Linked DNA regions of Homo sapiens: all the other regions are linked to region 1. Evidence: promoter capture Hi-C in 16 types of primary human blood cells and fetal thymus (Javierre and others, 2016). All regions are on one chromosome and are shown on one strand. The core of a region is centred on a gene start or on the middle of the fragment in contact, and the rest is flanking DNA. Distances in the headings are between cores, read along the strand shown. Region 1 holds the start of PURG (purine rich element binding protein G). Region 2 overlaps EXTL3 (exostosin like glycosyltransferase 3). Region 3 overlaps INTS9 (integrator complex subunit 9). Region 4 has its middle 5.6 kb from the start of POFUT3. Region 5 has its middle 85 kb from the start of EXTL3-AS1. Region 6 overlaps ELP3 (elongator acetyltransferase complex subunit 3).

Region 1 (3,691 bases), core at 883-3,382:
AGCTCACTAGGCCTCTTAAGTTGCTCTCTGAACATAAAGAGGCAGGTTCCCCCAGGGCCTTTGTACTTTCTTCTCCTCCAGAGAACGTCAAGGTAAGTTCTCTCACTTCCTTGAGCTCTGGACTCAAAAATTCCCTTCTCAGCGAGGACGTCCCTGACCACTTATTGTAAAACTGCAGCTCCCTACAGCCCCCCACCCACAACACACACACACACTCTTCATCCCCCTTTCCTTTTTAATCTCTATTTTCACCTTCTGTCATCCTATAATTTTACTTTTTGCCTGTCTCTTTCCACTAAAATGTAAGCTCCAAAAGGAGAGAGATGTTTGTCTGTTTTGTTCATTGTTGGTATCTCTAGTGCCTAGAGCAGTCCTTAATAAACATTTGTTGGATTAATAAAGGGAGACCACTGTGGGGGAAAAAAAATAAAAGAAAATAAAATTTTAGCTGAAGAATGCAAGCCCCTTTAAATTATCAGGCCCAGAGAGGCATTAGAATGAAAAAACAGTCCCGTCTCACTCCCGGTCTGAGCTGGATAATTATCTCTTAAAGCCCACCTGCTATATGGGCTCTAGACTGGAACCAAGAAGCCATAAAATGCCATATGCTGGACACGATAACTCATACCCTATGAGTTACAGTGTACAGCCAATCACTAAGCAATGGTATCTCTGTAAACCAATAACAATTCCTGACCAACTTTGTCTCAGCCCACTCTTCCCCTTCGCCTTTAAAAACCTGCTTGTAACCAAGGCTGAAGGAGCACTCCCCAAGGCAACTGGGAAATGAGTCCTGGGCAGCTGTCCTCATTTTGGCTGAAGTAAACACTTTAAATTATAATTTTGTGCCCCAGCCTCTTCCTTTTAGGTAGACACCACTATTCAATGACATCAAGATCTGAACTGTCCTACTTATCCCAATATCCCACCCCTAAAAAGAAATGTACCGAACCATAAAAAGCCTGAAGTACTCCGACTTACAGACTCCTGTATTAGCATCCTAAGAATTATATTACCCTCTTCAATAGGGAGTAGTATTTTTCATATCAAACCTAGCCTGAGAACAACTGAGATTCAACTAGGAAAAAAAGAAAAGAAAATCCATTAAAGACTGAGTGATTTGAACTCAAAAATATCCATCATCACTTGCTAAATCATAGACAGCAGGTTATTTCCCTCGACTTTGCTGTGCAGACCTGTAGTGGCTCAATTTCTGCCATAATAAAGGCCGTACTAGAAAGAGCAATCCTAACTAAGCGCGCAAGGTAAACATCAAGCTGGGGCCGTCAGGGGCGGGGAAACACTTTCTGAATGGCGGAAGCTCCGAGAGACGCCTTTCCCAGCTGCTCCAGAGGGGAAAGGAAAAGGGAGAAAGTCTGTTTTTCCAGAATCTCCCAAACACAGCCCAGGGGCCTGCTCCGCGGGCCTAAGCGCCTCCACGTGTCTCAGAAGCCTAGCACTATAGATACCCCGGGGCACGGAGCTGGGAAAACGGGAATAGGAAGACACTTTACCCCGAGAAGATCCAGTCCAACAGGTCTTCTTCAGCCGGATGACTGTGGAGCGCCACCACAAGCAGGGCCTGCAACCCAGGCATCCAGGCTAGACACCAAATCAGCAAACTTTATTCCCGCGCTGCCGAGTACAAGCCGGCGCCTCCCCGGCGCACACAGTACACATCAGCTCCGGGAGACCTACCCGACCCGCCCCTCCAGCGCCGTCCCCGCCCCCGTTCCTGCCCCACCCCTTTCCCCGCCCCCGGCCCGGCTCGCCTTTCTCGCGGCGCTGCAACCCTCCCACCACAGCCCATCCAGCCCCGCCCAGCGCGCCGCGGTGCGCATGCGTGGAGGCCCTCGCTGCCGCTGAGCACCTCGGGAAGTGTAGTCTCTTCGCAGGTGCGGCTGGGCAGCTAGAGTCCTGCATCCCGGTGGAATCCGGAGAAGTGAGAACATTCCCGCCGCCCGGTCCTCATTCCCATCTTCCCACCTGTCCAGTCCCCTCGCACTCCCGCTGCACCCCACGCGCCGGGCTTCAGTCAGAGAGTGCACTGAGGAAGAGCGGAGACCCCCTCTTCCCCTCAGCAGGCTGTGCCGGGGGAGGCGGGGTCCACCGCCCGCCCCCCGCCGTCGCTCTCCCCGCCTCCCCTTCCCTCCCCTCCTGGCGGGTGCGGGGCCGGTGTCCGAAGTCAGGCGGCGGCCCCCGCAGCGGCCGCAGGAGGGGCGGCTGCGGTGGGCGCCGCGGGCGATGCCCCTGCCCGGCTGCTCCGGCGGGGGGCAGTGCGAGCGGCGGCGGCGGGGGAGGAGGCGGGGGGCGGCGGCTGCGGCGGCTGCAGCAGAGGGGCCGAGAGCTGGCGGTGGCGGCGGCGGTGGTCGTGAAGGGCATCGGCGGCGGCGGTGATGGCAGAGATGATGTGAGTGCCCGCCGGCTGGAGACCTGGGGCCGCGGAGCGCGGGACGGGCGGCGGCGGCGTGCGGGAGCGGCCCCGGGGGCGGCGGAGGGATGCGGGGAGCGCGGGCAGAGCCGGAGCGGCGGCCGCCAACCGGCCGGCAGTGGCTGGAGCCCCGCGCTGCGGCGCCGGGGGAGCCGGGCCCGGCGTGGGGGTCGCGGGCGGCGGCGGGGCGGTCAGGCCGAGGGGCGTCTGCGATTGTTCTCAACACCCCTCCCCCACCCCATCCCGTGTGTCTGTTTGTTACTTGCAGCTGAAGATGGAAAGAGCCAGGCGAAGGGGAGGCGGCGGCGGCCGCGGCCGCGGAGGCAAGAATGTAGGGGGCTCTGGCCTAAGCAAGAGTAGACTCTATCCCCAGGCCCAGCACTCCCACTACCCCCACTACGCGGCCTCAGCCACCCCTAATCAGGCCGGGGGCGCAGCCGAAATCCAGGAGCTGGCCTCCAAACGAGTGGACATCCAGAAAAAGAGGTTTTACCTAGACGTGAAGCAAAGCTCCCGGGGCCGCTTCCTAAAGATAGCCGAAGTCTGGATAGGGAGAGGCCGGCAGGACAACATCAGAAAGAGTAAACTGACCCTCTCCCTGTCTGTGGCAGCGGAGCTGAAGGACTGTCTAGGGGACTTCATCGAGCACTATGCCCACCTGGGCCTGAAAGGCCACCGGCAAGAGCATGGCCACAGCAAAGAGCAAGGCTCCAGAAGGAGGCAGAAGCACTCGGCACCCTCCCCACCAGTCTCGGTGGGGTCCGAAGAGCATCCTCACAGTGTCCTGAAAACAGACTATATCGAGAGGGACAATAGGAAATATTACCTAGACCTAAAGGAAAATCAGCGGGGTCGCTTCCTACGGATTAGACAAACCATGATGCGGGGGACTGGCATGATAGGTTATTTTGGCCACAGTTTGGGCCAAGAACAGACTATTGTCCTCCCAGCACAAGGAATGATTGAGTTTCGTGATGCCTTGGTTCAGCTGATTGAAGACTATGGCGAAGGAGACATAGAAGAACGAAGAGGTGGAGACGATGACCCGCTTGAACTCCCAGAGGGGACTTCTTTCAGAGTGGACAATAAAAGGTTCTACTTTGATGTGGGCTCTAATAAATATGGAATTTTCCTGAAGGTAAGTGAGGTGAGACCACCTTACCGTAATACTATTACTGTTCCATTCAAAGCTTGGACAAGGTTTGGGGAGAATTTTATCAAGTATGAAGAAGAGATGAGGAAAATTTGCAACAGCCATAA
Region 2 (3,764 bases), core at 174-2,673, 2.3 Mb after region 1:
AAATTATGCCATTGCCTTATCTGCTTCCCTTCCCACCAGTTCGCTAATGTCCCACAAATCCAAATCGTATTGTTTTACCAGTCAGTTTAATTATGTGTAAAAATCAGATTCACCACTTAAGAATTTTTTCAAATAACAAACCGGGACCGTGCTACATTAACTAAATCAGAATTCCTAGGTGTGGGGGAAAACTCCTGCAGTTTGACAAAGTTCCCAGGTGATTTTAATGCAGAGCACACAACCCTAACTCCAAAACTATTGGTCTAATGAAGAATTGATAGTAATGGAGATTCAGATTGATGGCAGCTCAATCAACATAGACAGCTAAGGAAGACAAACAGCACTATCCCTTAGCTAACGCAGAAAGTCCGCACTTCAATGCACCACATACCCTTGGAAGATGGGGAGGAGAGGGCTTTTTCATAATTGCTACTGATTTATATTTACAGTGTGCTAGGCACAGTACTCTAGATAACACACTTCACACATACATTTCATCAGCCACATGGGAGTACTGTCATTTCCACTTCACCGATGAAGCAGTGGTGTATCACCAAGGATAGGAAACTTGTTCAAGGCAATACAGCAACCAAGTTACAAATCCAGGTCCGTATGACCTACAGCCCTGTATACTGCTTCTTGCTTATCTACCATTTGTTTACTTAGAGGATTCATTTTGTCTTAATTCATTTTACAATCATTATGTATTACTTTTGTAATTAAAAATATTACCTTGTTGCAATCTTTTTAAAGAACACCTCATTACATTTTTCAATAAATAATGTGACACATCTATTTGGGAAAAAAAATAAAGTCAGATTACTGCATGACAAACCAAATCCAAAAATAAGTTCCAGGTGGATTCAAGAGTTAATTATAATAAATGAACCGTAACAAGAAAAGGAAAATATACATGTAATCTCATCTCAAGTACAGCCACTTTTCCAGGAATCCAAGCAAAAGTAAAATCCAGAAATGTTCAACAGGTTTGACTATATAAGAATCAAATGATTCTATGTATTCAGAAGGAAAAAAAAAAAGCTTAAATTTGATTAAAAATGGGGAAGCCTGCTCAATATGACAGAATTAAAAGAAAGCAATCAACAGTGGTCAACGGACATAAATAAGAAGTTACACAAAAAAAGGGTTCAAGTGATAAACATGTTTATATGTTTAACCTTCCTAGCGATCAAAGAAATACACATTTCAAACAAGATACTGTGATATTTTCCACTAATAAATCATCAAAGTATTGTAAAATTATAATATCTGGTGCTAAGCAGGATCCAGGGTAAACATTCCCACACTTGGCTGCTGGGATTGCAAATTGGCACACCTTTCTGGAGCACAATTTGGCAGTAATAAAAACACTGAAACTGTGTCTATCCTCTTTCCCTGTAATTCTATCCGAGAAATTATTCTTAAAGAATCATGAGTGAGAAAAAAGATTTAACTTCCAAAATGCTCATACTAAAACATTAAAATAGTGATTAAAGTACAGTACAACTCTGAACTATGCTGGCTGCTACAATGTGGCAGGTACTCTTGTGTTAGTAGAAAGGTAAACTGAAAAGTAATTTGCCATTTGTAAGAAAAAAACCTTCAAAATTTTCTTATCTCTGATTCAGCAATTTCACTTTCTAGGAATATATTTTAGGTGAGCAAGATTTGTATGTAAAGATGCAATCACCTCATTATTCTTTATCATCTGTATAAAATATATAAATTAAATGTCCAAGACTAGGAGCAAGGTTAAACAAAGTGTGACTGTCACTGATATGACTATGATACCATTAGGAAGCTTTTCAATGGTTTTAAATAAAATGAAAACATGTTCACAATGTTAGCTGGAAAAATACAGATTCAAAGCCATATATGCAGTATAACATGTTTAAAATGCATATGTATATATTTCTGAATAGAAAAACAAACAGAAGCAAAAACACCAACAGAGGCACTTCTAGATTGTGAAATTATAGGTGATTTCTGCATTCTTCCTATCTTTCTCACTCTCCCTCCTAAAATGAGATGCGTCATTTTCATAAGGGCTGGGTAGCGATGTAGAAACAAGGTTTTCAAATAAGGTCTTCAGATGGATTTTGCTAACTTATTCTCAGAACAGTCAACTTAGTATGCAAGTGCCTAGAATATAAACTAATCTAACGGTTTTCGCTTCTCAAACATACATGATTTTTATTTTATGCTGTGGAGGCATACAATTGATATCGTTAGTGCCCTGGGCCTCCCTGAATGAGATAGAGAAAGTGAAGCAAGTTTGCTAAGCCATACATAAATCAGGTTTTTCCTTTTTTTTTTTTTTTAAGAGACAGGGTCTTACTATAATGTTGCTCAAGCTGGTCTTGAACTCCTGGACTCAAGGTGATCCTCTCACCTCCGCCTCCCAAAGTGCTGGGATTACAGGTGTGAGCCACCGTGCCCAGCCTTAAATCAGCTTATGACTCGGGCATTCTCCTTCACCCTTTGTGGGTGAATTCAGCTTGAGACGCTTTACCATCCCATCATCATTACCATATTTCTGATTCATCAGGTCCCCTAACTTCCCAATTCCTCGTTCTTGACTCATAAGCTCCTTGTCCTTTGTTAACTCGTAAATTAAGGGGTTAGACCGGATGACCTCAAAGATCCTTTTAGACTCTAGGCCCTCACTGACAATTGCCTTGCTCCCAGGAAGCACAAAAACATGTTTTGCTGTGGGGAAAATTTCACCACCCTACCTACTCAAGGCAGCAAGGCCATTCCCAAGACCTCCTTCTCGTTTCACCTCCAAGATTTCAGGCATAAGGCTTTAAGGCCCCCCTTAATTTTCCACAGACTCCATTAATAATTTGGGATCCCATCAACTATTTTCTCCATTCGAAGCCACTGTGCTTTTATATTTTACAGCTCTACTTCAGAAACAAAGGAAGCCGGATGCGGCGGCTCAAGCCTATATCCCAGCACTTTGGGAGGCTGAGGTGGGTGGAAGTTCAAGACCAGCCTGGCCAACTTGGTGAAACCCAGTCTCTACTGAAAATACAAAATTAGCCGGGTGTGGTGGCACACACCTGTAATGCCAGCTACTTGGGAGGTTGAGGCAGGAGAATTACTTGAACCTGGGAGGCGGAAGTTTGCAGTCACCTGAGATCATGCCATTGCACTCTAGCCTGGGCGAAAAGAGCGAGACGCCGTCTCAATAGAAAAATTGAAAAAAAAAAGAAAAAGAAAAGAAGCCATGCTGGAAAGAGTAGGTCAAAATTGCTGAAAAAACATTTAAAAGCAAGTTGGAAAAGAGACTTTAAAGGGAAAATGGTCAAAAAAGCAAACATCCAGGACGTTAACCATTAATATTATTGACCAGTCCAAAAGGTATTGGACACAGCCAAATGAAGGAATATACCAAAGGAAAGGCATGTGTGTGAGGGGTGGCACTCTAAGGCAGGCACCCGCAAGCGGCAGCTGCCTGCTTTTGTAGATAAAGTTTCACTGGAATACAGCTTTGCTCATTCAGTTATGGATTCCGTTTGTATGGCTGCGTATAGTAGGCATTCTTATATATTATGTATATGATGCTTTCACTCTCCAACAGATTCTACAGTTCATCTTCCTATGGCTCCACTTCTAGACTTTTGATGGGTCATTTGGGTGCATGTGAGTAGTATCCTACACTGCACTTTATGGCCTAACTGTGGGAGAGGGAAGTATGTTAGTAATGAGTCTCCCCAATCCTCTTCTATTTTCAAGATCACAGGTTTTTTAAATCCTGC
Region 3 (3,882 bases), core at 259-2,758, 2.1 Mb after region 1:
CCATGTTGCCCAGGCTGGTCTCAAACTCCTGGGTTCAAGGTATCTGCCCACCTCAACCTTCCAAAGTGCTGGAATTACAGGCATGAGCCACCATGCCTGGTCCGAAATTATAATTCACTGTGTTCATGGTGAAATAGAGGCGTGTTCAGGGTTTTGGGAATTCAGAGAACAGAGGATTGGGGAGGTCAGGGGACAGCTTCCTGGAAACGTGACTCTTGAACTGATAAGGATAAGTAAGCCAGGGCCTTCCATGAAAGAGGTCAGCTTATAGGAGCATAAGAGCTTGGTACCTTATTGGCTAAAGCATGGACCCTGTGTTCTCAATAAAGAGCAAATTATATTTAATGTGTTCAGTTTAAGAAGGCAGGGAAGTGTGAAATAGTTTTTCCCATAACAACTCATTAGTGAGGGTATCAAAAAGCCAGGGTTTACTTTACATATATTTTAGTTTGCTCATAAAATCCTCCTGCTTAATTTATTTAGAAATATGAAACCGGGGATTGTAAAAAAGTGGAAAATTATTTTTTCCATTAAGAACCAAAGATGTCTCAGAGGAAAAGGAAGTATTCTATTGATACTCATACTCCCTCTTTACTTTGCAACTATGTATTACATACTAAAATTTATTTGGTAGTTGATAGATAAATGTAATTGAGAATTCCCATCAACATACCAAAAGCATTGTTGCTCAGTAAGTTAGATGGGTGTGTCATGCCTCCCAAATGGTTGGAATAAGTCCTCCCATGGCCTAAAAGTTTTAATTTTGTGTACTGCTTCAGAAATATGTAATAGGCTGTGTTTTAAATTTATAATTATGAAACAAAAACACATTTTGTTTAGCATTTTCTCATTTTTGAGATTCACTTTCCAGAGTACCCTTCCCACACACAATCTATGACCACCTCTTATTGATTCTGCTTCCTAAATGCAGCTTTCTTAAATAGGTTCTATTTCTCTCCAGTCCAACTAGAATACTGTCTTTGTAATCGGAATTCAACAAGACCCCTTATCTGGTCTCTCTGCATTCAGTCTTAACCCTCTCAAATTCATTCTTTCCTCTGCATCCGGAAGTTGTTTTAATTGCAGAGTTCCATGAAACCCTCTCAGTATCTTCCTTTGCCCTTAGGATAACCTCCTACACTTAACTTGGTTGAATATGTTCCATTGCCTGCCTCACTCTTTTTTGCCTGGCTAATTTCTTCATATATTTCAGATCTCTGTCTAAATAACACTTCTTCAGGGCCTCGTTGAATTAAGTACCCCTGTTATATATTTGATGGCATACTTCCTATTTGTAGCACTTGTAATTATTGGCGTGTGTCTGTCCTCCCCCATGTAGATTCTGTGTAAATAATTGGTAAATAATTTCTGAAGGTTTATCAAGGTCTATGGATACCCTTGAGAAAAGATTAAAGAGTGAAATTAAAGAGATTACAATAAGCAGTAACCATTGAAGTAAAAAAGGAATGATAGCTACCTTTTATAAAGCAATTATTGTGTGCCAGGCAATGTGCTAAGTATTTGCTATGTAGTTTCCCATTTAATCCTTTGATCCAGGTGACAGTATTCCCATTTTACAGACAAAAAATGTGAGCTTCAGGGAGGTGAAGTAAGTGGCTTAAAGTTAGCATGGATTAAAAATGATAGAGCCAAGATCGAAACCCAGGTTTCCCTGTTATTTAGTGAGGGTAGGAACTCTAGCACCCTGCACCATGCCTAGGTTATCTCTTAAAAAAAAAGAAGGTAGAGTGCATACAGAAAATATATTCAAGGCTATTTTTAAAAATTAGCTTTAAATGCAAGTGTGGTTCAATTAAGATCTTCAGGCCAGGTGCAGTGGTTCATGACTGTAATCCCAGCACTTTGGGAGGCGGAGGCAGGCAGATGGCTTGAGATCAGGAGTTCTAGACCAGCCTGAGCAACATGGCAAAACCTGTCTTTACAAAAGATACAAAAACTAGCTGAGCGTCGTGGCATGTGCCTGTAGTCCCAGCTACTTGAGGGGCTGAGGCAGGAGGATCACTTGCGCCTAGAAGGTTGAGGCTGGAGTGAGCTGTGATGGCACCACTGCATTACAACCTGGGTGACAAAATGAGACCCTATCTCAAAAACAAAAAACAAAAAAAAGTTTTTAAGGTTATTGGTTAAAAAAAAATTTTTTTTAAGTTTGAGGACTTTCTTGATGAGCTAAAGGCCCCCATATCAGAGCATACTAATTTGGTGCTGAAGTTAGTATTTTTTATCTTCCAAATTTAGCTCCTGTGATACCATTTATAATTCTCTAACTTTGCACATCACCCTCTTGGTGGCTTTTCACACACCCACATGAAAACAATGGATGCCATTATAACGTAATACTTGGGTATCTCCTTCTTAGATACCAACTCAGAGGATTTCAGTGGCTTTCCGTATTTATAATATGCAATATTCAGGCAGCTTTATTTAACTGAAGAAAACTCATTGGCATTTTCAGTTAACCAGAATCATTTTAGAAAGCAGAGGAAAATTAGAAATATATCTTTTAAATTAGCACATTTTAGAGCATGTTCTGTTATTTGTATAGATTGAGCCTAACTGAGTACGCTGATGGCCAGTTCAGCTAAGGATAGAAACTGGAATTCACAAAGGTCCTTACCGAAAGAACATGGAACAAAAAATTCTGAGCACGTTGACAGAAATTAAGTTTGAAACATCATGGCCAGGAACCCAGTCATTTAAATAGATGAAGAGTCAAGCGAATAAAATAATCCAAAGCAGTTCAAGAATGCAGCCTGTGTGTTGTACTTCCTACAGATAGTACCTGAGATGGAGAGAATCTTCTGGCTTATTCAGTCAACAAAGATTTTTTATGCAACCACAGTATACCCTTGGCATTCACAATTTTAACGCTTTCCATTTTAACCATTACATTTGACCCCTGTGACATGGAATTATTTATAATTTTGCTGAGACACAAATTTGAATGTGACTTTAAGATTAATGTTAATCCTTTGGGAGGGGCCTGAGTGCCTCAGAATCCATGGCGCTCTGCAGAGGCCGGCTTGTTAAAAGTCTTAAAGGAAGGTCATTTAAATGCTTGTTATACTATACTTATTAAATTTGAAGGAGAAAATTACATGCTGTAGTTGTGTTTACAAATTTTAAAACTTGAGAAGGCCACGAAATACATTCTTCAGTGGTCTTTGCTCCTTTGTTCAAAATGCTGTTTCATTTCTACTGGCTCAAACTTTTAACTTGCCATTTCTCCTGGGAAAACAGATGGAGCAAAGAAATGAATTCATGGACTGCTCCCAGTGGAAGACAAGTAAAACACCGAGTGCAATTGTAGATTATGTAGAAGATTGCTTGAAAGGGGCAAATCCTGCCCCAAGGTCAGTTTAAGAAATCATTAGAAAGGGGCGTGGTTAATCCTCACCTTGGATCTGAGAGTGTTGGATTCTTCCTCCAGTTTACATGGTTGTAGAATCCTGTTGGCTTCCTAGGTTGTACATGAAAACAGGAAATCTCGGGCTATAAATTACAAGCCCTCAACATTTTATCGGTGCTTGATTCAACTATTGCAGTACAAATTGTTAAAATGTCAGCTTGACTTCACTGTCTTTTCTGTTTTTCTTTGCTGGTTAATAAGAGTGCCCTCCTGTGTCTTTAGGATGTAATGTCATTTCAAGCTTTTCAAAGGTCATATTTTATCATAACCTCAATAGGTTTTTTCCTTCATGATTTCCTCAAACTCTGAAAAGCTGCGTGTGACATAAGGCTAAGTTACATACCTTTCTCAGTAATGGTCTGTGATAAAGATGGATATTTTACTCTTAGGCATTTCAGAGTCCAAAATTATTATTCTGAAGATTAAATATTTTATACTTAACAAGGCAAAAAAAT
Region 4 (4,207 bases), core at 1,003-3,502, 2.4 Mb before region 1:
AAGAAAATTGTTGGAGCTGGATGATCTTGAGTTCAACACAATGATTGTAAGTCCTATGGAGAGGAGGGGGAGGAAGAGAAGTTGGTTAATGAGTACAAAAAAAACACTTAGATAGAAGGATAAAGTCTGGTATTTGATAACACAGTAGGGAAATTATAGTTAACAATAATTTATTGCATATTTCAAAATAGCTAGAAGAGAAGAATTAGAATGTTTTCAACACAAAGAAAAATGTTTGAAGTGATGGATACCTCTATCACCCTAATTTCATCATTACACATTGTATACATGTATCACACATACCCCCAAAATATATGTAACTATGATATATCAATTTAAAAACACAAATAAATAAAATGTAAACAATACTTTTTTTTTAGAAGTCCTATGGGGAGGGTCATTTCTGCAGCCTCCTGTCTTGCCAATGAGCTCGATCATTCAGAGTTTTGCACCGGTGGATGAAGTGTGTTTTAACTGCCTCTCCATGAATATTCCTTAAATGATTCAATATTTGCTTTTGCTCATAAAAAAGGTGCAGTGGGGAATATCTGCTTCTATTTGTTTTACATTTGCTTCATATCTTGTTCACAGACGAAGAAATACTGAGATGGAAGGGGATGGAAGTTGAGAACTCTCAGATCCTGGGGTAGAACATATTTGTGATTCTTTGTTCATTAGATGACTGTATGTTTATCACAGAACATAGACCAGGATGTGGAAAAAAACTAGCATTTTACATACCACATCTTCCCTCCTTTATCTACTTCATCTATCTTTTTATTCCATGTTAGAAGGGAAATATTTGGCTGGGCACGGTGGCTCATGCCTGTAATCCCAGCACTTTGGGAGGCCAAGGCGGGCAGATCACTTGAGGTCAGGAGTTTGAGGCCAGCCTGGCCAATATGGTGAAACCCCGTGTCTACTAAAAATAAAAAATTGGTCGGGCGTGGTGATGGGCACCCGTAATTTCAGCTACTTGGGAGGCTGAGACAGGAGAATTGCTTGAACCCGGGAGGTGGAGGTTGCTGTGAGCTGAGATTGTGCCACTGCACTCCAGCCTGGGTGACAGAGCAAGACTCCCATCTAAAAAAAAAGGGAAATAGGAAAGAGGTGATGAGGAAACAATCTAGAGGAATGACTTTCAAACTTGGTTATGTTCAAACATCAGAAGCAAATTGTTAACTGATTAATAATACAGATTTCATTGATAACATCAGAACTGCTGTGTCAGAAACTCAAGGAGTAGAGCTCCCAGATGATTCACATATTAGATAGTGCCAGACACATTAGCAGTGCAAGAACTTGTATTTGAGAAGCAATGCTCTGAAACAGTTTGTACCCTCTTAGAAACAGGGGAATGCAAGAACTGAAGCTGCCTATAGAAGGTCACCAGGCTCCCTCTTTACTTGTTTCTTTTCTTTTCTTTTCTTTTTCTTTTTTTTTTTTTTTTTTTTTGAGACAGAGTCTTACTCTGTCACCCAGGGTGGAGTGCGGTGGCGCTATCTCAGCTCACTGCAACCTCCACCTCCCTCCTGGTTCAAGTGATTCTCCTGCCTCAGCCTTCCGAGTAGCTGGGACTACAGACATGCACCACTACGCCTGGCTAATTTTTAAATTTTTTAGTAGAGATGGGTTTTTGCCATGATGGCCAGGCTGGTCTCGAACTCCAGACCTCAAGTGATCCTCCCGCCTTGGTCTCCCAGAGTGCTGGGTGAGCCACCCAGGCGTAAGCCACCGTGCCCAACTGGAGGAGCAGATTTTACAGGTGGTGAGAATTGAATTTTGGACATGTTACTTTATTTTATTTTTTATTTTTTATTTTTTTCTTGAGAGGGAGTCTCGCTTTGTTGCCCAGGCTGGAGTGCCGTGGCGCGATCTCTGCTCACTGCAAGCTCCGCCTCCCGGGTTCACGCCATTCTCCTGCCTCAGCCTCCCAAGTAGCTGGGACTACAGGTGCCCGCCACCACGCCCGGCTAATTTTTTTTGTATTTTTAGTAGAGACGGGATTTTACTGTGTTAGCCAGGATGGTCTCGATCTCCTGACCTCGTGATCCGCCCACTTCGGCCTCCCAGAGTGCTGGGATTATAGGCATGAGCCACCGCGCCTGGCCGCTTTATTTTTTTAAAGACAGGATCTTGTTCTGTTTCCCAGGCTGGAGGATACAGTCATAGCTCACTGCAACCTCAAACTCCTGGGCTCAAGGGATCCTCCTGCCTCAGCCTTCTGAGTAGCTGGGACTACAGGTGGGTAGCACCAGGCCCAGTTAATTTTTAAAATTTTCTGTAGATACAGGGTCTTGCTTCATGGCCCACGCTGGTCTCAAACTCCTGGGCTCAAACAGTCCTCTGGCCTTAACCTCTGAAAGTGCCAGGATTATAGATGTGAGCCACCATGCCCAGCCTGAACGTGTTGATTTTCATTTGCCCACTAGATATTCAATTAGAGTTGTTAGTACCCGGCGGTAAGCACACAGCAGTCACTGCTCCATGCAATACTGAAATTCCACCCAGCAAATGTTGTCAGGTCCCTCTTCTCCAGGGGCAGGGAACATTCTGTTATTAGGGCCCAGTTTTGCTTTCTAGGAATGGCTCCCTGACACCTGGTTCACCAAAGCTCTTGGATTGATTCTCTGAAGCACCTTTCTTTTCCATTAGGCTTTGTGGATTCTTAGGAAGAAATGACTCCTGTTGGCAGCTGAGTGCCCTTCTAAGTCTGTATCTTGCCCACAGAAACTTGGGGCCTCAGAAACTTTTTTTTTTGAGACAGGGTCTCACTCTGTCACCCAGGCTGGACTGCAGTGGTGCAATCTTGGCTCACTGCAACCTCCGCCTCCCGGGTTCAAGCAATCCTCATGCCTCAGCCTCCCAAATAGCTGGGATTACTACTTGGCCCACCCCACCCAGCTAATTAGCGTGCCACCACACCCGGCTAATTTTTGTATTTTTGGTAGAGACAGGGTTTCACCATATTGGCCAGGCTGGTCTTGAACTCCTGACCTCAAGCAACCCGCCCATTTCGGCCTCCTAAAGTGCTGGGATTACAGGCGTGAGCCACTGTGCCTGGTCAAAACATGTTCGCTATGTAAAACTTTTGAAACTTTGTGAACTTTCTATGTTGAGTCTGATTTCAGTCTACTCCGCTGGTCAAAAGCTGTATACATCATTTTTTTTTTTCAGACAAACTTCTTTCCAGACTTAATTGAGCTTACTTTGACTGTAACCGGCAGCTAAGAGAAGACATTTTTATGATTCTTACTGGCTCTTTCGTTTAACTGAAAAGATCCATTAGTACCAACTTAACTCTTTTAGATGTCTTAACAAAAGATCTTCCAGCCTCATCTTGAGGATCTTTTACTGGCTGGGGAGGCTGGAGATAAGAACAGGATTTATTTTCCAATCTGCTCAATTTTAATCTCTTGATAGTTCCTCTAAATTCTGTACAGCACCCCTTTCTCCTTATTTCTCTTATTTCTTTCTGGCAGTCCTTACAATATGCAGCTAAAAGACACCAACTAACACATTTAGCATTCTGCCTGGAAATCATTTTATCAAGGCATACAAATTAAGTATGTTTTATATCTTGTGAGTTGTTACAGGTAATAGTTTTACCAAGTATTTTACTGCTATCTAACATGTCATCATTCTTCCAGTTTGCTATAGCAGTTTTCTTAGCACCTTAAGAAAACCCTCAAATTTTAAATTCGTTTTGGAGTAAAACAGGCTCTTTACTATTTACAAGATTATTTCTGAGTTGCAAAAATTCTCTGTCCATGTTTTTCCCTTTATTACCATGTTTTTTCTCCTGTATTTCCCCCACTCAATCTTGGCTGCCACAATCCAACAGAGAGCATGGCACTGCTTTTTTTCTTTTTGCATCTGTAGTGGAAACCTTGGCAGCAGACAGTAAGTGCATCAGGTCTGTCAAACACAAGCATGCTTCTTGCTTTTTCAGTGTTGTCCAGGACTTGGTCCCTAAACCAATGCCACATATTTTAGGCTTTTGTTAAACAGCATCCCATTTCTAGATGGCACTTTCTTTTTTTGTTTGTTTGTTTTTTGTTTGAGACAGAGTCTTGCTCTGTCACCAGGCTGGAGTGCAGTGGCATGATCTCAGCTCATTGCAATCTCCGCCTCCTGGGTTCAAGTGATTCTCTTGCCTCAGCCTCCCGAGTAGCTGGGATTACAGGCGCGCGCCACCACACCCAGC
Region 5 (3,953 bases), core at 546-3,045, 2.4 Mb after region 1:
TTAATCATTTTTAAGTATAGAGCTCAATAGCATTAACTATATTCATAATGTTAGGCAACCATCAACACTATTTCCAAAGCTTGTCATCACCCATAAGATAAACTCCGTATCTATTAAAGCAATAATTTCCACTCCCCTCTCCCCTTAGACCCCAGTGAGCTCAAATCTGCTTTCTGTCTCTATGAATTTCCATGTTCTAGATATTTCATATAAATGGAATCGTGCAATATTTGCCCATTTGTGTCTGGCTTCTTTCAGTATAGTATTTTCAAAGTTCATCCGTGTTGTAGCATGTATCAGAATTTCATTTCTTGTTTTTTTTATTGTTGTTGATTTTGGTTTTGGTTTTGAGGACAGTGTCTTGCTCTGTCACCCAGTCTGGAGCGCAGTGGCACTATCTCACTGCAGTCTCCATTTTCCTGGGCTTAAGTGATTCTCCCACCTGAGCCTCCCAAGTAGCTGGGACTACAGGCATGTGCCATCACACCTGGCTGATTTTTGTGTTTTTTGTAGAGACAGGGTTTTGCCATGTTGCCCAGGCTGGTGTTGAAGCCCTGGGCTCCACCAGCAATCCACCCACCTTGGCCTCTCAAAGTACTGGGATTACAGGTGTGAGCCACCATGCCTGGCCTGATCTTCATTTCTTTTTATGGCTGAATAGTACATATATATGGTACTATTGTACAGTGTATATTGTACATATACATTCCTTTTTGTTTATTCATTTGATGAACACTTGGATTGTTCCCACATTTTGGCTATCGTGAATAATGTTGCTATGAACATTAGCTTACACTTCACATATGTTTTCTCCTCCACATAAGATCTTATTTCCACTGTAGACCCTAGTCACGGGCCATCCCCATGAAAAATGAGGAAGGAAGCTGCCCCATCTTCTTTCTGTGTCCTTGCCTTCTCGGAACGGGGTGTTGGTAGCAACAGGTATGACTCATTCATGGTGAAATTTTTGGCATGAGTAGGACAGGGCAATCTTGCAGACACTCCTCAAATCATCCCACAGACACACCACATACTTGGCTTGGCTAAAAAGCAAGTCCTGCCAGGACAAATCCTCTCAAGACTAAGACACTCTTAACAGGAAGTGGGATTCCTGGAGTTGGGTATTAGTAGGCATACTGTGTTTCCTTGATGCAGCCTTTGTGAAAAGGGTTTGAGATTGCAAAAGACGTGACCGTAAGAAGGAAGCAAAGAGGAACATTGAGAATAAGCCTGGAAGTCCGTTTTGTCTTCCCTTCAGTGTCCACAGCTGGTTCCGAGGCAATGCGTTCCAAGGCAGATGAAGAGGAGTCTCCAGGTGCTGTGTCACCAGCTGTTTCCTGGGAACCCTGATGCACTCCTGGTTCACTCTCCACACCCAAATCTATACTCAGCGCACACCTGTTAACTGAATTCACTTAGAGAGGAAAACTCTTAAGCATTCAGGCGGTATCAGCCCTGGGCAAGAATCTTGAAGAGCACACATTTTGGCTTTTTTTTTTTTTTGAGACGGAGTCTCGCTCTGTCGCCCAGGCTGGAGTGCAGTGGCATGATCTCGGCTCACTGCAAGCTCCACCTCCCAGGTTCACGCCATTCTCCTGCCTCAGCCTCCCAAGTAGCTGGGACTGCAGGCGCCCGCCACCACGCCCTGCTAATTTTTTATACTTTTTTAGTAGAGGCGGGGTTTCACCCTGTTAGCCAGGATGGTCTCGATCTCCTGACCTCATGATCCACCCGCCTCAGCCTCCCAAAGTGCTGGGATTACAGGCGTGAGCCACTGTGCCTGGAACGTTTTGGCTTTTATGTCTGACTGCCTCTCTTTTTGTTTGTGGGGCTTCCATCTCCCTCCTTCAGTTACTGACTCTTAATTCCTCACCCCCTCCCCCATTTCCCTCCACCGAAAAGTATTCTTTACCTGTTTATTGAAAGTCTCTTATATACTAATTCAAACTAAAGTATAAATGACTGAAAGTAGCTTACTGTACTGCCCTTTGCAAGAATACTTCATTACATTTTTCACAATAATAATTTCACCAGTGATATCTTTTTTCTTTTTTTAAAAGATAGTCAGCATCTCCCTATATTGCCCAAGTTGGTCTCAAACTCCTGGCCTCAAGTGACCCGCCTGCCACAGCCTCCCAAACTGCCGAGATTACAGGTGTGAGCCACTGTGCCTGGCCTACTGATAGATTTAATGTAATAAAATCCAAGAGCTGGAGAAAGACATACTATGCTAACACCAATCAAAAGAAAGCTGCAGGCCGGACATGGTGGCTAAAGCCTGTAATCCCAGCACTTTGGGAGGCCCAGGCAAGCAGATCACTTGAGGTTAGGAGTTTGAGACCAGCCTGGCCAACATGGTAAAACCTCGTCTCTATTAAAAAAAAAAATACAAAAGTTAGCTTGGCATGGTGGTGCATGCCTGTAATCCCAACTACTTGGGAGGCTGAGGCAGAAGAATTTCTTGAACCCAGGAGGTGGAGGTTGCAGGGAGCTGAGATCAAGCCACTGCACTCCAGCCTGGGTGACAGAGCAAGGCTCCATCTCAAAAAAAGAAAAAAGAAAACTGGAGTAGCTATATTAATTTCAAAGTAGACTTTTGAGAAAGGAAAATTATCAGAGATACAGCAGAACATTACATAACGACAAACGGGTCAATTCTCCAGGAAGACATCAAAATACTCAATATGTATGTGCCTAACAACAGCATCAAAATAGATGAGGCAAAAACTGATAGACCTGCAGAGAAGAAATAGATGAATTCACTATTATTATTGGAGACTTCAACACTCCTCTGTCAGAAGTAGACAGATTCAGCAGGCAGAAAATCAGTAAAGATACAGCTGAATTCAACAGCACCATCAATCAGCTGAATATAATTGACATCTACAGAATACTTTATCCAGCAACAGCAAATTACAAATTCTTCTCAAGCACACATGGAGCACTGACAAAGGTAGACCACATTCTGAATAAAATACATCTTAAGAAACGTAAAAGAAAGGAACTCATTCAAAATATGCTCTCAGACCACAATGGAATTTAACTAGAAATCAATAGCAGAAAAATAGCTGGAAAATTCTCAAATATTTGGAGATTAAACAACATAATTTGGAGGGCGGGGGTGGGAGGAGGGAGAGGATCAGGAAGAACAGCTAATGGATGCTGGGCTTTATACCTGGTGGGAGGAGGGAGAGGATCAGGAAGAACAGCTAATGGATGCTGGGATTATCTTTGCAGCAAACCACCATGGCACACATTTACCTATGTAACAAACATGCATATCCTGCACATGTACCCCACACTTAAAAGTTGGAAATGAAAAACATAATTCTAAATAATACATGGAAGAAGTCTCAAGAAAAATTGTTAAACATTTTGAACTAAATGAAAATGAAAATATCATTTATCAAAATTTGTAGGTGCAGTGAAAGCAATGCAGAGAGAAAAATTTATAGCATTGAATGGAGATATGAGAAGAGAAGAAATATCCAAAACCAGCAACCTAAGCTTCCACCTCAGGAAAATTTAAAAACAGCAAAATAAATACAAAGTAAACAGAAGAACTGGGGTCCTCACACCTGTAATCCCAGCACTTTGGGAGGCCGAGGCGGGTGGATCGCTTGAGCCCAAGAGTTCGAGATCAGCCTGAGCAACATGGTAAAATCCCATCTATTCAAAATATACAAAAATTAGCTGGGCATGGTGGCACGTGCCTGTATATCCAGCTACTCAGGAGGCTGAAGAAAGAGAATTGTTTGAACCTGGGAGGCAGTGGTTGCAGTGAGTTGAGATTGTGCCACTGCACTCCAGTCTGGGTGGCAGAGTGAGACCCTATCCAAAAAAAAAAAAAAAAAAAAGCAAAAAACCCCACAAAGTAAACAGAAGAAAACAAATAAAAATTAGGCTAAAAATCAAAGAAACTGAAAACAGAAAATCAATAGAAAAAATCAACA
Region 6 (3,815 bases), core at 467-2,966, 2.9 Mb after region 1:
ACGATGGCAGCTTTAGCTTTAGATGTGCTAAATTAAAGAGAACAACAAATATATATAAGATGTAGAAATGTTCACTAGAAATTAAAGATTTGTATAATCAGGGGTATAACCAACAAAAAAAGAAAGAAAAACTTCTAAAGACACGGTAGAAAAATCAGTAAAATACAATAACTTTATAGTCAAAAGAGGATATTTACTTATTCCTGTAGCAAATATTTACTAAGCATGAGGATTCAAGGAAGGGGTAAAATATTGCAGCATCTCAAGTATCAGAGAAGAGAGTCTAAGAAAAGGTCATTCCTGTATGTGATGATTAGACGACCTGGGGTTGGGGAGAGAACCCTTTCATTAGGGAAGATCTACATAGAGTGAATATATATTATAGTTTGAAAAAAAAAATAGATGCAGAGATGAAAGACAACTCTTATTTGAGACTGTAGGAAAGTCCAAGCTGAAAATGATTATGGAGAGGAAGTGGATGAATGTGTCAAAGAGGTTCTACAGCAGGGGAGGGTTGGATTAGATCAGGGGCCCCAAAGGGAGGGTTTTCCTGACAGAAAGCTGCTGCTTCAGCTGAGACAGTAGGGAAGGAAAGTAGGATGTGCAGCGATGCAGCACAGAAGAACATGGGCTCTGGAGACGGCTGACCTAATTCCAAATCCCAGCTCTGCCAATTACTAGTTACTTACCCCTGGACAAATTATTTAACTGCTCTCTGACTCAGATTACCCACCTGTCAAGTGTGGCTGGTATCAGTACCTATCTCACAGAATTTTGAGGGGATTAACTGAGCTAATACATACAATGCATTAGCAACAGTGTCTGGAATACAGTAAGTGCCCAATAAATGTTAGAAGCTATTAGTATTCTTAAGCTGAGACAATTTTGCCATCAAGAAATGAATGACGGCCGGGTGCGGTGACTCACGCCTGTAATCCCAGCACTTTGGGAGGCCGAGGTGGGCAGATCACGAGGTCAGGAGATCGAGACCGTCCTGGCTAACACGGTGAAACCCCGTCTCTACTAAAAATACAAAAAATTAGCCAGGCGTGGTGGCGGGCGCCTGTAGTCCCAGCTACTCAGGAGGCTGAGGCAGGAGAATGGCGTTAACCCCAGAGGCGGAACTTGCAAAAAAAAAAAAAGAAATGAATGACAAGGCAAGGCAGAAAGCTAAAATTCTCAACTAAAATAAAACTTGAGCTGGAAAACAAGTAGTACTAGATAATTTCATAAAAGAGATCTGCTACCTAAGAACAAGCTTGCTCTCTCTTTATATCCACTTACTTATTTAGATCGATGTCTTTCCCCTGCTCGTGGGCTTCAATCAGTTGTTTAATAACATCTCCTATAGTCAGCATCATCAGCTCAGCAGGGCTGAGATCTCCTGGAAAGTTAATATTCAACAATGTCAAAAATCGTATCATTCAATCAAGATTTTAAAATCTGATTTAGTAGCAGTTTTCCATCCGAAACCATACAAATATGCCAAATGAATAGCTCAAGTTCAGAAGATGCTAAATCTCTACTGTTTACAATTTGATCATATCTTTTGTATCTTTAAAACAAACGTGGCTTTACATATATATGGGAAAAGCTCCCTTTAGAAGCACATACTCTATGAGATTATTAAAAATAAATACAGGAAAGGATACAGGAGTAGAAACAATGTGAGGAGAAAGAACTTAATCACACAGGAAAGGACCAAAGTAATTCTCTTCCCTTTATCTCCAGAGGTGTAATTACTAATATGTGCATAATACTTTAGAGTTCATAAAGAACATTTAGATGCATGAATTCAGGTAATTCTCAGAACAGAGGTAGACAGAACAAGAATATGTGCCTGTTACATGAAGATGCTATCAAGGAGTAAAGTTGAAACTCAAACCCAGGTATCTGCCTAAGAATCTTAATGCATTTCTAAAATATTGTCTGTCCACCATCATGAACTTCTGGCAACTGGGGCTCTCGGTCTCATCCAAAGGCAACAGCAGAAGCTGACAGGTTCTTGTATGACGCCATCCACTCAAGCACAGTTCAAGGATTGGTTCAAGGATGGGCATATCTCTAAGCCAGGCCAATCTGAGCTCTTTTCTTCAAGGTAAAAAATGCCAGTCTTTTTCCAGGGACAAAAGCTGTGGGATATCAGCTTGGAAGCTGTCAGCAAGCAAGCTTCTCACCTGTAGAGCAGTGGTTCCCAACCTTTTTGATAAAAGGAACTGGTTTTATGGAAGATGATTTTTCCACAGACCAGGGGAGCAGGGTGGTTTTAGGATGATTCAAGTGCATTACATTTATTGTGCACTTTATTTTTATTACTGCATTGTTATATGTAATGAAATAATTATACAATTCACCATAACGAATTCTGTTCCCATAGAATCAGTGGGAACCCTGAGCTTGTTTTCCTGCAACTAGACACTCCCATCTGGGGGTGATGGGAGACAGTGACAGATCATCAGGCATTAGATTCTCATAAGGAGCACACAACCTAGACCCACCACATGCACGGTTCACAACAGGGTTCAGACTCCTTTGAGAATCTAATGCCACTGCTGATGTGACAGGAGGCAGAGCTTAGGCAGTAACATGAGTGATGGGAAGTGGCTGCAAATACTGATGAAGCTTCACTTGCTCGCCTGCTGCTCACCTTCTTCTGTCTGGCTCAGCTCCTAACAGGCCATGAACCGGTACTGGTCCGTGGCCCAGGGGGCTGAGGACTCACACTGCAGAGAAAGCTAAAACATAATGAAAGCGTGGATGGAAGGCCCTGGCAATTATGGAGCCCACACATTTACTTTATCTCATTTGAACCCTTACAGTAACACGGAGGGTAGGTACTGTTATCCCATTTTATAGATGTGAAAAATGAGGCTAAGGCAAGTTAACAAGCTATCGTAAACAGCAGAGCCAAGACTCAAATCCAGCTCTTTTCACCACAACTTCCATGCTTTTTTCACTGTAACACACTGCATCTAATTTAATGAGGCAAGGCTAACATATACACAACAATTTTTGAGAGAAATAAAGTCCATCTATACTCAAAGGCTAAATGCTTTCCAAACCATGTAACTCAGCACTTCCAGAGTTCTACAAAGGTGCCTCAGGGGCCATGCAACAGAGGTAGGACTGGTGGTGGTCATGGCAGAGGAAGGGAGAAGGGAAGAGGAAAATAAGGCATGGAGGAAAAAAAGGAGGAGGTCTCTTTATTTCCACCACAGCAGCTCTGCTTTCAGCTGTTTATATATTGAGGTTCTGTGTAAGAATTTATTTGGAGGGTAAAAGGGGATCGGCTGATAAGAACAGATAAGATTTGGAAACCACTTGTATAGCTCTTGAGTGTATCAAGAACTGGAAGAGTAAATGAGTAGGAAAAGACTTCATGAAGGAAATGGCACAGGGATCTTTAAAGATAGGGCAAGATTTGGACATGCAAAACAGAAGGCAATCCAGAAGAAATAATGTCAGGCATAGGAATTACCTATCTTTGTGTGAAACAGCACAGCCTAACTAAAATCCAGCTTTCTAACAGGGTGTAATAAAGAACAGATTACAGGGGACCCTGGCCACTAGGCAAAGGCATTGAAATGGAATGCAACAGACAGTGAAGAATTGCATATTCTCAACTTTGGAAATAAAAAGTTGAAAGTAACGTTTAAGGAAGGTAAGAATATTATCGGTACAAAGAATGATTCAGAAAGTGAAAAAGAATACATATAATATGGATACTACTCAAATGGCTCTTGAAAGGCAACATTGTTTTAAAAAACCCACAAAATCTAAGACAGGATCCAGTCCCAATGCCTACTGGCTGTGTG

What was found. Contacts are between HindIII fragments. The CHiCAGO score rates a contact against its expected background, and 5 or more counts as called.
Region 2: a fragment that was not itself captured here is called in contact with the fragment with the promoter of PURG in region 1 in 1 of 17 cell types (total CD8 T cells); the score reaches 5.0 in total CD8 T cells.
Region 3: a contact is called between a fragment that was not itself captured here and the fragment with the promoter of PURG in region 1, in 1 of 17 cell types (total CD4 T cells). The highest score is 5.3, in total CD4 T cells.
Region 4: a fragment that was not itself captured here is called in contact with the fragment with the promoter of PURG in region 1 in 5 of 17 cell types (naive CD8 T cells, total CD4 T cells, non-activated CD4 T cells and 2 more); the score reaches 9.5 in naive CD8 T cells.
Region 5: a fragment that was not itself captured here is called in contact with the fragment with the promoter of PURG in region 1 in 1 of 17 cell types (activated CD4 T cells); the score reaches 5.8 in activated CD4 T cells.
Region 6: a contact is called between a fragment that was not itself captured here and the fragment with the promoter of PURG in region 1, in 1 of 17 cell types (activated CD4 T cells). The highest score is 6.2, in activated CD4 T cells.

The regions. Positions count from the first base shown.
Region 1 is chr8:31,031,797-31,035,487 of GRCh38, reverse strand. It overlaps PURG (purine rich element binding protein G), which reads left to right and starts at 2,132. Exons shown (of 2, transcript NM_001323311.2): 1 at 2,132-2,410; 2 at 2,700-3,691. The coding sequence starts at 2,706. WRN (WRN RecQ like helicase) reads right to left here and starts at 1,678. Exons shown (of 35, transcript NM_000553.6): 1 at 1,515-1,678. RefSeq lists enhancers at 521-570, 1,404-1,925 and silencers at 641-710, 1,681-1,940, 2,101-2,150. The HindIII fragment of the contact is 5,494 bases long and covers 1-3,623 here.
Region 2 is chr8:28,704,115-28,707,878 of GRCh38, reverse strand. All of the region lies in intron 1 of EXTL3 (exostosin like glycosyltransferase 3), which reads right to left. Among named protein-coding and RNA genes, the nearest start is that of EXTL3, 4.5 kb to the right of the region's middle. The HindIII fragment of the contact is 760 bases long and covers 1,044-1,803 here.
Region 3 is chr8:28,884,490-28,888,371 of GRCh38, reverse strand. The region is part of intron 1 of INTS9 (integrator complex subunit 9); the gene reads left to right. Among named protein-coding and RNA genes, the nearest start is that of INTS9, 3.5 kb to the left of the region's middle. The HindIII fragment of the contact is 4,325 bases long and covers 1-3,670 here.
Region 4 is chr8:33,476,663-33,480,869 of GRCh38, reverse strand. No RefSeq gene overlaps it. Among named protein-coding and RNA genes, the nearest start is that of POFUT3, 5.6 kb to the right of the region's middle. The HindIII fragment of the contact is 9,428 bases long and covers 1-4,207 here.
Region 5 is chr8:28,614,177-28,618,129 of GRCh38, reverse strand. It overlaps a transcript of EXTL3 not described here. Among named protein-coding and RNA genes, the nearest start is that of EXTL3-AS1, 85 kb to the left of the region's middle. The HindIII fragment of the contact is 3,428 bases long and covers 82-3,509 here.
Region 6 is chr8:28,094,788-28,098,602 of GRCh38, reverse strand. ELP3 (elongator acetyltransferase complex subunit 3) reads right to left here. Exons shown (of 15, transcript NM_018091.6): 2 at 1,285-1,384. Among named protein-coding and RNA genes, the nearest start is that of ELP3, 3.6 kb to the right of the region's middle. The HindIII fragment of the contact is 911 bases long and covers 1,261-2,171 here.